Linked DNA regions of Homo sapiens: region 1 is linked to region 2. The links are contacts of gene promoters, found by promoter capture Hi-C in human tissues and cell types (Jung and others, 2019). All regions are on one chromosome and are shown on one strand. The core of a region is centred on a gene start or on the middle of the fragment in contact, and the rest is flanking DNA. Distances in the headings are between cores, read along the strand shown. Region 1 overlaps HADH (hydroxyacyl-CoA dehydrogenase). Region 2 holds the start of CASP6 (caspase 6).

The links. The method cuts DNA at HindIII sites, captures the fragments that hold promoters and counts their contacts. A contact is called where the count stands out against the background at its distance.
Region 1: a contact is called between a fragment that was not itself captured here and the fragment with the promoter of CASP6 in region 2, in 1 of the 25 tissues and cell types used here (dorsolateral prefrontal cortex).

Annotation. Positions count from the first base shown.
Region 1 is chr4:107,999,779-108,004,978 of GRCh38, forward strand. The region is part of intron 1 of HADH (hydroxyacyl-CoA dehydrogenase); the gene reads left to right. Among named protein-coding and RNA genes, the nearest start is that of HADH, 12 kb to the left of the region's middle. The HindIII fragment of the contact is 3,066 bases long and covers 1,660-4,725 here.
Region 2 is chr4:109,701,998-109,707,119 of GRCh38, forward strand. CASP6 (caspase 6) reads right to left here and starts at 1,448. Exons shown (of 7, transcript NM_001226.4): 1 at 1,359-1,448. The coding sequence starts at 1,398. RefSeq lists enhancers at 50-109, 870-929, 1,820-1,869 and silencers at 1,110-1,219, 1,370-1,659. The HindIII fragment of the contact is 8,740 bases long and covers 1-5,112 here.

The sequences.
Region 1 (5,200 bases), core at 1,943-4,442, 1.7 Mb before region 2:
GAACAACTAATTGTAATGAAGGCACAGACAGCCTACCTGTCATATCTGGGATTTGATCTGAAACAGATGAAAGTTATAATAGTTTACATACCTTACCTTAAAGTATGGTTTTTAAATACTTAAGATGTGATATGACATATAGTGTGTATATATATCTTATGCTAAGGAAAAAGGGACATTAAAAAAGCTTATGTTAAAAGATATATGTATACATTGTACTGCCTGTATGTTTGTGAAATTTGTATTTACTGGAAATTCTCATTGGCCTGTAGATAGGAGTGTTCCTAAGCACCCTATATTGGGATTTGTGGTAACAGCAGCTTGACAACCTGAAGTGGATGATGCAACAGCACTTTTGAAAGGTCTCTCCGTACTATCTTGATTTCATCATCTAAAGTTGGTGTTGGCAAAGAGAAGATAAGTGTTTAGGGTGTTGGATATCCCAGTTACCCTGATTTGATCATTACACATTTTAGGCAGGTATCAAAATGTCACATGTACCCCAAAAGTATGTACAGCTATTACATATCAGTTTTTTAAAGAAGAAAAGGTTGGTATGGTTAGCTTTTCTATTTCAAGTGTATCATTCATCTTTCACATCTGGGATTTCTCCTATGCTCTGGTTGGTTAATAACTTTTATTCTGAAATCGGTGAGATTCTTATGACATGAAATAGTCTATAACCAGTTAAGTTTTTATTTCTCTGTTCTGTTCACATCCTGGGGACTGGGCTGCCATTACATAACTGAGCAGCCATTGGTGGTTCACACCAGCGCCACACCCAGTTATTTTCTTTCAGTATTTGAATTCCTGCACAAAAGATCTGCTGTATCTGCAAATCACTAGAGGCACAAAAGAAGTGATTACCTCTACTAAGGGTTGGGAGAAGTTTCACTAAAGGAGAGATGGTGTCCATGTTAGATTATGAAGGGTAAGTTGAAGTCCATGAAGCAGCAATGAGGGAGCCGGACATGTATGGCAGAGGAAACCACATGAACAAGGGCACAGAGCCATGAGATAGCACAGAGGAGGGAGACGTGTGGTGTGGCTGGGGAAGACTACAGAATCGGGTTACTACCGTCCAAAGCATTTGTTATTTAGCAGTTATTGACCAGCTATCATATTCAAGGCATGTGATAAGTACTAAGGGCTACAAAGACCAAATCAATTTCTGCCATTAAGGGATTTTAAATCTAAGAGCAGAGATTAGACAGAGATCTAAATGACACAGTTTACTTTGGTGTAAAGTAGTACAATAAGAGCAGTAAAAATCTAGTTCTGAGGTTTCAAAATAGAAAGTACATTCATTTGGAAAAAGGCTTCATGGAGAGGGTAGCATTTGAAATGGGCCTGAATAATGGATAGAACATTTCTGGACAGCAGTTAATGGTTGGGATTAAGGAAAAAGTGTTGTCCAGAAAATGGTGACCTACAGAATAGTGGTACCAGTAATGAAGGCCAAGGAGAATTGATTTTAGGGTCAAGGTGATAACTGCAGCTTAGATAGATTATTTTGGTTTCAGGCACAGTTGGAAGTATGAGAACGATTGGAATTTCAGAAGGAAATTATATTGGAAACAGAACCTTGAAGGAAGTCCTTGTTTATAGGCTTAGAAGATCAAGAGAGGTCAATTAATATGGCTAAAAGGAACAGACAGATAAGAAACTGAAGAGTTTCAAAAATGAAACTTTTATTGGCAATGTACAGAGCTGTTGTAGAAGATGAAGCCAAAGAACAGGCATTGACTTTAGCAATTTAGTAGACCATTGATAAGTTACAGTAGTCCCCCCTTACGAGGGGAGGGAGTACATTCCTAGACCCTCAGTGGATGCGTGAAACTGCAGATAGTACCAAATCCTATACATACTATGTCTTTTTGATCTGATAACCCAGTCAACTACCAAGTGACTAATGGATTGGGTAGTATACAGTGTGGATATGCTGGACCAAGGGATGAGTCTCCTCCCAGACAGGACAATTCAAGATTGCATCACACTACTCAGAATGACATGCAATTTAAAACATGCATCATTTATTTCTATAATTTCCCATTTAATATTTTTGGACCATAGTTGACTGTTGGTAACTGAAACTACAGAAAGTAAAACCACAGATAAAGGGGGGACCAACTGTATCTAATTTCATGCAGCAGTGGTGGTGGAAGAAGCTACTCTGATAGGAATGTTTGTGTTCCCTCCAAAATTTATGTCGAAGCTGAATCCCCAGTGCAGCAGTATTAAGAGATAAGGCCTTTAGGAGGTGATTAGGTCATGAGGGTTCTGTATTCATGAACAGCTTAGTGCCATTTAAAGGGGCTTGAGAGACCAACTTTGCCTCTTCTCCCTTCTGCCATATGAGGACACAGTGCTCGTCCCCTCCAGAGCAGGGGTCCCCAACTTCTGGTCCGTGGCCCATTAGGAACCGGGCCACATAGAAGGATGTGAGCAGCTAGCAAGACTTCATTTGTATTTACAGCTGCTCCCCATCACTTGCATTGCTACCTGAGCTCTGCCTCCTGTTGGATCAAGAGTTGCATTAGATTCTCATAGGAGCATGAATCCTATTGTGAACTGTGCATGTGAGGGATCTAGGTTTCGTGTCCTTGTGAGAATCTAATGCCTGATGATCTGTCACTGTCTCCCATTATCCCCACATGGCACCATCTAGATGCAGCAGAACAAGCTCAGAGCTCCCACTAATTCTGTATTGTGGTGAGATGTATAATTATTTCATTATATATTACAATGTAATAATAATAGAAATAAAGTGCACAATCAATGTAATGCACTTGAATCATCCCTAAACCATCCCCTCTTCCCTGCAAGACGGTAGAAAAATTGTCTTCCGTGAAATTGTCTCCCATGTCTTCCTGGTGCCAAAAAAGGTTGGGGACCTTTGCTCCAGAGCATGCAGCAGCAAGGCACCATCTTGGAAGCAGAGAACAGCCCTCACCAGACACTGAACATGCTGATGATCTTGATCTCTGTTGTTTATACATTACCCAGTCTTTGGTATTTTGTTATAGCAGCACTAACAGACTGAAATAAGCCATATTACTAGAGTTTAGGAATTTAATGGCTCAGGAGAAAGTAGAAGCACCAAGTGTAGTGAATAAAATAGCAGCTAACAAGCTTTGTGCACCTTCACATGCCTGGCACTGGTCTAAGCATGTTAAACACATTAACTTCTTTAATCCTCACAACAGTTTTATGAGGTGGGTACCTTTGTTACTAACCTTTATGACAGATCAGGAAACCAAGACATAGAGGCTTCGTAGCTCACCCAAAGTCACACAGTGAGTGAGTGGCTAAATCAGTGTCTTAGTCTTTTTTTTTTTTTTTTTTTGCTGCTATTAACAGAATACCTGAGACTGGGTAATTTATAAAGAACAGAAATTTATTTTCTCATAGTTCTGGAGGCTGGGAAGTCCAAGATCAAGGTACCAGCTTTGGTGTCTGGTGCAGACCTACTCGTTGTGTCTTGCTGGGGGAAGAAGGCTGTCTGCACATGGCAGAAGGTGGAAGAAAGCTAGACGAACTTTCTCCGTCAAGTCCTTTTATAAAAACCTTTAATCCCATTCATGAGGGAGGAGCCCTCATGGCCTAATCTCCTCTTAAAGGCCGCACCTCTCAATACTATCATATTGGCAGTGCCTGACTTTTGAAGAGGACACATTCAAATCATAGCCAGGTTTTAAACCCAGGAACTCCAACTATAGGCTTGTTTCTCCACATATCACCATGCCACCAAGTAATTTAAAGACTTTGGTGGTAAAGCAAAGGCCAGCCTCAGGTGATTAAGGAGGATCCTTTTCTTCCTCCCTTTTTATATGGAGCAGGATCCCAGCCCGTTTGTAAAAAAATAGAAGGACACAGAAGGGAAAACTTGAAAATGAAAACTGAAAAACAAGTCATGAAATCAGAAGATGTGAGATCAAAAGCAAAATAAAATAGTTTACCTTAGAAGGCTGTGCCTGGATCCAACAATAGGCCTCAGACCCTTGCAGAAAGAAGAAGGGGGCAGCCCAGAATTAAAAAAAAAAAAAAACAAAAAAAAAACCCGCAAGCTATTGTGATGTGCCAGGCACCACTGCAGGTTTTTGACTTGTATTAACCCATTTAACCCTCCCAACAACCCTGTTGCCCCTGTTTTATAGATGAGGAGACAGCCTGCTGAGGTTAAGGAATGTTTTCCATCCCCAACTTGGCACACAGGCTCTGGAGTCTGGCCCTTGCCTGTCTCAGTACTGTTTCAGGCTGTTGCCCTCAGACCCCGCCATGCCTTCCAGGGTCAAGAAAGGCATGTGAGCAGGCAGCTTGAGCTCCCTGTCACGTGTAGACAGTGAGAATAATGTGCCTTCCCCAAAGGCAGTTATGAAGATCAGAGGAGATAATTTATGAAAAGTGCAAGCTCTCTTGAGAGTAGGGGATTTTGTTTGTTCACCTTACAAGGCAGGTGTTGAGTCAATAGGCTGCAGTCAGTGAAGGAATGAATGCAGTGGCATGCGCAGCGTGGTGGTCTAAGTGGTAGTTTTGGTCCATCCCTAGGGGAGCACAAGTCTTGGGCAGAGGATCAAAAGCACACACCTCTGAGAAGCCAAGTGTTTTTGTCTGTAACCTTTGATCATTCAAAAGGAAGCATTTTCTAACCTCTGCATTTTTTTACCCAAACTGTACAAAGGCTTCCTTGCTGTCCAAGTTGTGGTATACTCCAGTGCAGCTGCCTGGCTTCCAAGAGAAACTTAGCACTTCTTGTTCTGTTTGTAGCCTCAAATCAACATGTAACCAAAAGCTGTGAATGAATAATCCAAACTTGAAGAACCCCAGATTTTATTCAGGAGGAGTAACTGGAAGCCATAACCATGAACTTCCATATCTGTCATAGGAAAGAGGTTGGCCTCAGCAGCAATGAGGGATAATTCTTTCAAGAAAGGAATGAAGAGAGAAGTTAGATGGAAAAGAGATTTTTAAGGTCAAAAGAAGCAGCTGAAGAACATGTGTAGGACAGCCTTAGGAGTTACTACACTTCAAGACCTGGGTGTCTGCTGGAGGAAGGAACATGACCCTGCGGAGATGTTAAGGGTTGGGAGAGCTGAGCTTGGAGGCTGGAAGCCCAGCTGGGAGGCTATTGTTAAAGAGGTAAGATGACCCTAAACTAGTATTCAGGATGTTATGTGGTACTAAAAGGAATGTTAAACGA
Region 2 (5,122 bases), core at 198-2,697:
TCTCTATGAAAATCTACCCATCGGCTCCATCAACAATGTATTTAGTAACCCTATGTAGAGTAACCTCCATCAGGCCTAGAACATGCACTGGGGAGTGCGGTGGAGGAAGAAGAGGAAGGGAGCAGGTGAGTGAAGGAAAGCCCCGGCTTCCCGCCCCTAGAGACTGCAACTGGACCCTGCACTGTGCCTCCAGGACAAGGCTACCTATCTACCTCCTCTACGACCATGTGACTTTTACAGCTTGCCTCTGGAGCACCATTTCCTTTGTGCAGCAAAATATAAAGAGTTCTTAAACAAAGGCACTCTAACCAACTGCAGGCGTTTCGTTCTTTTTTTTTTTTTTTCTTCTTGATTCGAAGTCTCACTCTGTCGCCGAGGTTGGAGTGCAGTGGGGCGATCTCGGCTCACTGCAACCTCCACCTCCAGGGTTCAAACGATTCTCTTGTCTCAGCCTCCCCAGTAGCTTGCGCCCAGGCCTGGCTAATTTTTTTGTATTTTTAGTAGAGACGGGGTTTCACCGTGTTAGTTAGGCTGGTCGAGAACTCCCGACCTCTGGTGATCCGCCCGCCTCGGCCTCCCAAAGTGTTGGGATTACAAGGCGTGAGCCACCACGGCCGGCCAACTGCAGGCGTTTCGACCTTTTTGTTTGTTTCACTCTGGCCAGGCTTGAAGTTTCTAAACTTTACCAGTAATAAGTGACAGAACGTACGCTCTTAGCAGTTGATTACTTTGCAGAAAAAAGTTATTGTGGTTTTGGCTCAAACCGACAGACAGCAGCAGGTTTCCTGGATGAAGAAGAGAGATACCGGGGTGTGCTGGCCGCCAGGAACTGGCCGCCTCCAGCTGAAGCCCGGGAGGACCCAGGGTCTTGGCCCGGGCACCCCGCGGGCCTGTTATGTTTTCATTATGACTCGGCGGAACAACCCCTCCTTTTCACTTTTCGAAGTGAGCAAACAAAAGATCCAACCCCCAACATTTCAAACGGCCAGGTGTGGGGGAACGCCAGGCCCGCGTGGGGACAGCCTTTTAAGGTTTAAACAGCCGGGGCGCCCCGAAAGCGCTCATCGCCCCGGAGGACAAAGGCGGCAGGGGCACGCCCCGGCGCCGGCGTCGCTACTCGGGACCGCCAGGAGGCGGCAGCCAGGTCCCCGAGTGTTTCTTAGACTGAAGCGCGAAACCGTCCCCACCCGCCCTGAGCGCTTCAATCCAAGAGTGCAACTTCTCCAGGCCGCCCTGCAAAGCCGAAGGAACCCGCGGCCCCACTCCGGTCCGCGCGCCCGGTCCACTAACCCTCGTTTCCCCTCCAGCCGGAGCAAGACGCAGACCTGCTCGGTGCCCAGTCGACGCCCCCTGCCTACCTGCCGGGTGCCCCCTGCGGAGCCCCGAGGCCGAGCTCATTGCAGCCAAACGCGCAGCCAGACACCTTGCCCTCCTCTTCCTGAAGCCACAGGCTCCCGGGCCCGGCCCCGCCCTCGGCCCTTCCTCGGCGGCCCCGCCCCCTGCCCCCGAGCGTGGGGCCAGTTGGTTCTGATTGCGCGCCGCCCGGGCTCCCGTGGATCGGGCTGGTCCTTCCCAGAGTTAAAGCTCCTCCCAGTCGCTCCGGAGCCCGCGGGGACCAAGAGCGCGGGGGCAGGGAGAGGTACGCGGTCTTCGCCTCCAGGCCCGCTGGGACTAACCGTGCCCTGGGGACATGCCAGTTGCCACCCGGGGGGACACACAGACCGCCTAGCCCGAGGCAATTTCACATCACTTGTGTGAGCTCGGACTCATTTAATCCCAGCTGCCCCAAACATTTGCTATTCCTTACTTTGCTATGCCTGTACTTTCTAGAGGTACAGGCATAGATTGTTTTATACCGCTTAGCAGATACTGCCTGTATTTCAACATTGGCTCGCTTTGTGTCTCTGTGTCACATTTTGGTACTCTCGCAATATTTCAAAATTTTTCATTGTTATTATGTCTGCTGTTGTGATCTGTGATCAGTAATCTTTAATATTATTGCAATTGTTTTGGGGCACCATGAACCGCGCTCATAAAGGAAGGGGAAATTAATCCATAAGCCCTGTATGTGTTTGGACTGTTCCACCGAACTTTCCCTTCTCTCTCCCCCTCCTGGGGCCTCCCTATTCCTGGAAACACAATTTTGAAATTAGGCCAACTAATAATCCTACAAAGGCCTCTAAGTGTCCAAATGAAAGGAAGAGCCTGTCACTTTAAATCAAAAGCAAACATGATTAAGTTAGTGAGGAAGTAATGTTGGTAGGCAGAAAGCTAGGCTTCTTGCTCCAGTTAGCCAAGTTGTGAGTGCAAAGGAGAAAAGCCAAGTCATGAATGCAAAGGAAAAAATTTTGAAGGAAATTAAAAATGCTACTCCAGTAAACACACAAAAGACAATAAAGCTAAACAGCCTTATTGCTGATATGGAGAAAGTTCTAGTTGGTCTGGATAGAAGATAAAAACAGCCACAACATTCCCTTAAGCCAAAGCCTAATCCAGAGCAAGGCCCTAACTCTTCAATTCTATGGAGGCTGAGAGAGGTGAGGGAATTGCAAAAGAAAAGCTGGAAGCTAGCAGAGAGGATGGTTCCTGAGGTTTAAGGAAAGAAACTATCTTCATGACATAAAAGTGCAAGGTGAAGCAGCAGGTGCTAACGTAGAAGCTGCATCAGGTTATCCAGATCTAGCTAAAATCATTGATAAAGGCAGCTACACTAAACAACAATCTTTTGTTTTTGAGACAGTCTTGCTTTGTCACCAAGGCTGGAGTACAGTGGTGCGATCTTTTGCAACCTCTGCCTCCTGGGTTCAAACGATTCTTCTGCCTCAGCCTCCCAAGTAACTGGGATTACAGGATGTGCCACCATGTCCAGGTTAATTTTGTATTTTTAGTAGAGACAGAGTTTCACCATGTTTGGCCAGGCTGGTCTTGAACTCCTGACCTTGAGCAATCTGCCCGCCTCGGTCTCCCAAAGTGCTGGGATTACAGGTGTGAGCCACCGTGCCCAGCCAAAACAACAGATCTTAAATGTATATGAAACGGCCTTCTATTGGAAGAAGATTCCATCTAAGACTTTCATAGCTAGAGAGAAGTCAATGCCTGTCTTCAAAGCTTCAAAGAACAGGCTGATGCTCTTGTTAGGGGCTAATACAACTGATGACTTTAAAGCCAACATTCCTTTACCATTCTGAAAATCCTAGTGCCCTTAAGAATTATGCTAAATATGATCTATAAATGGACCAACAAAGGCTAGTTAGTGACAGCACATCTATTTACAGCATGGCTTAGAGAATATTTAAAGCCCACTGTTGAGCTCTAGTGCTCAGAAGAAAGGTTCCTTTCAAAATATTACTCCTCATTGACAATACACCTGGTCATCCAAGAGTTCTGATAGAGATGTACAGAGACTGATGCTGTTATCGTGCTTGCTAACACAACATCCATTCTGAAGCCCAGGGATCAAGGAGAAATTTTGACTTTCAAGTCTTATTTACAAAATACATTTCATAAGGCTATAGCTGTCATCATGATTCCTCTGATAGTTCTGAGCAAAGTAAATTGAAAATCTTCTGGAAAGGATTCATCATTCGAGATGCCATTAAGAACATTTGTGATTCATGGGAGGTCAAAATATCCACTTACGGTATGTAACTAGAGACTAGAGGGGGAAAAAAAGAAAAACGAAAAATTAAAAGTACATGTATCAGCCACAGTGGCTCATGCCTGTAAACCCAGCACTTTGGGAGGCCAAGGTGGATTGCTTGAGGCCAGGAGTTTTGAGACCAGCCTAGGCAACAATGCAAGACCCTGTCTCTACAATTTTTTTTTTTTTTTAATTAGCCAAGAGTGGTGGCACATGCCTGTATTCCCAGCAACTCAGGACACTAAGATGGCAGGATTATTTGAGCCCAAGTTTGAGGCTGCAGTCAGCTGACTGTGCCACTGCACTCCAGTCTGGGTGACAGAGTAAGACACTCTTTAAAAAAAAAAAAAAAAAAAAAAAAAAAATATATATATATATATATATATATATATATAATATATATAAAATACATATATAAATATTTAAAAATTATATATATTTCAATTGGCACACTGGGTGGTATTTTACAGGCAGGACAACATACCTATCCATTTTATATATATATATATATATATATATATATATATATATATACACACACACATATACACACACACATACATTATACATAGGTATATGCATATATCTCCACATTAACAGGAGTTTGAAAGAAGTTAATTCCAATCCTCATCACTGATGTTGAGGGGTTCAAGACTTCAGTGAGGGAAGTCACTGTAGATGTGGCAGAAGTAGCAAGACAAATAGAATTGGAAGTGGGGCCTGAAAATGTGGCTGCATTGTTGCCATCTCATGATAAAACTTTGATAGATGAGGAGATGCTTTTTACGGATGAGCAAAGAAAGTGGTTTATTGAGATAGAATCTACTCCTGGTGAATATGCTGTGAATTGTGTTTAAATGACAACAAAGGATTCAGGGTATTAGTTGACAAAGCAGTGGCAGGGTTTGGGGGGATTGACCCCAATTTTGAAAGAAGGTCTGTGGATAAAATGCTACCAAACAGCATCACATGCTACAGGGAAATCTTTAGTGAATGGAACAATCAATGGATGGCCAGGTGCAGTGGCTCATGCCTGTAATCCCAGGACTTTGGGAGGCCAGGAGTTCGAGCCCAGACTGGCCAACATGGCAAAACCCTGTCTCTACTAAAAATAACAAAAATTAGCCGGGCACGGTGGCAGGCACCTGTAATCCCAGCTACTCAGGAGGCTGAGGCACAAGAATCACTTGAACCAGGAGGCAGAGGTTGCAGTGAGCCAAGATCATGCCACTGCACTCCAGCCTGAGTGACAGAACGAGACTCCATCTCAAAACAAACAAAAAAATGAAGCAAACTTCCTTATTGCCTTATTTTAAGAGATTGCCAGTCATCCCAGCCTTCAGCAACTACCACCCTAATCAGTCAGCAGCCCTCAACAATACCCCACACCAACATTTATAACTCGCTGAAGGCTCAGATGATCCCTAGCATCTTTTAGCAATATTTTAAAATTAAGGTATATACATTATTTTTTTAGACATG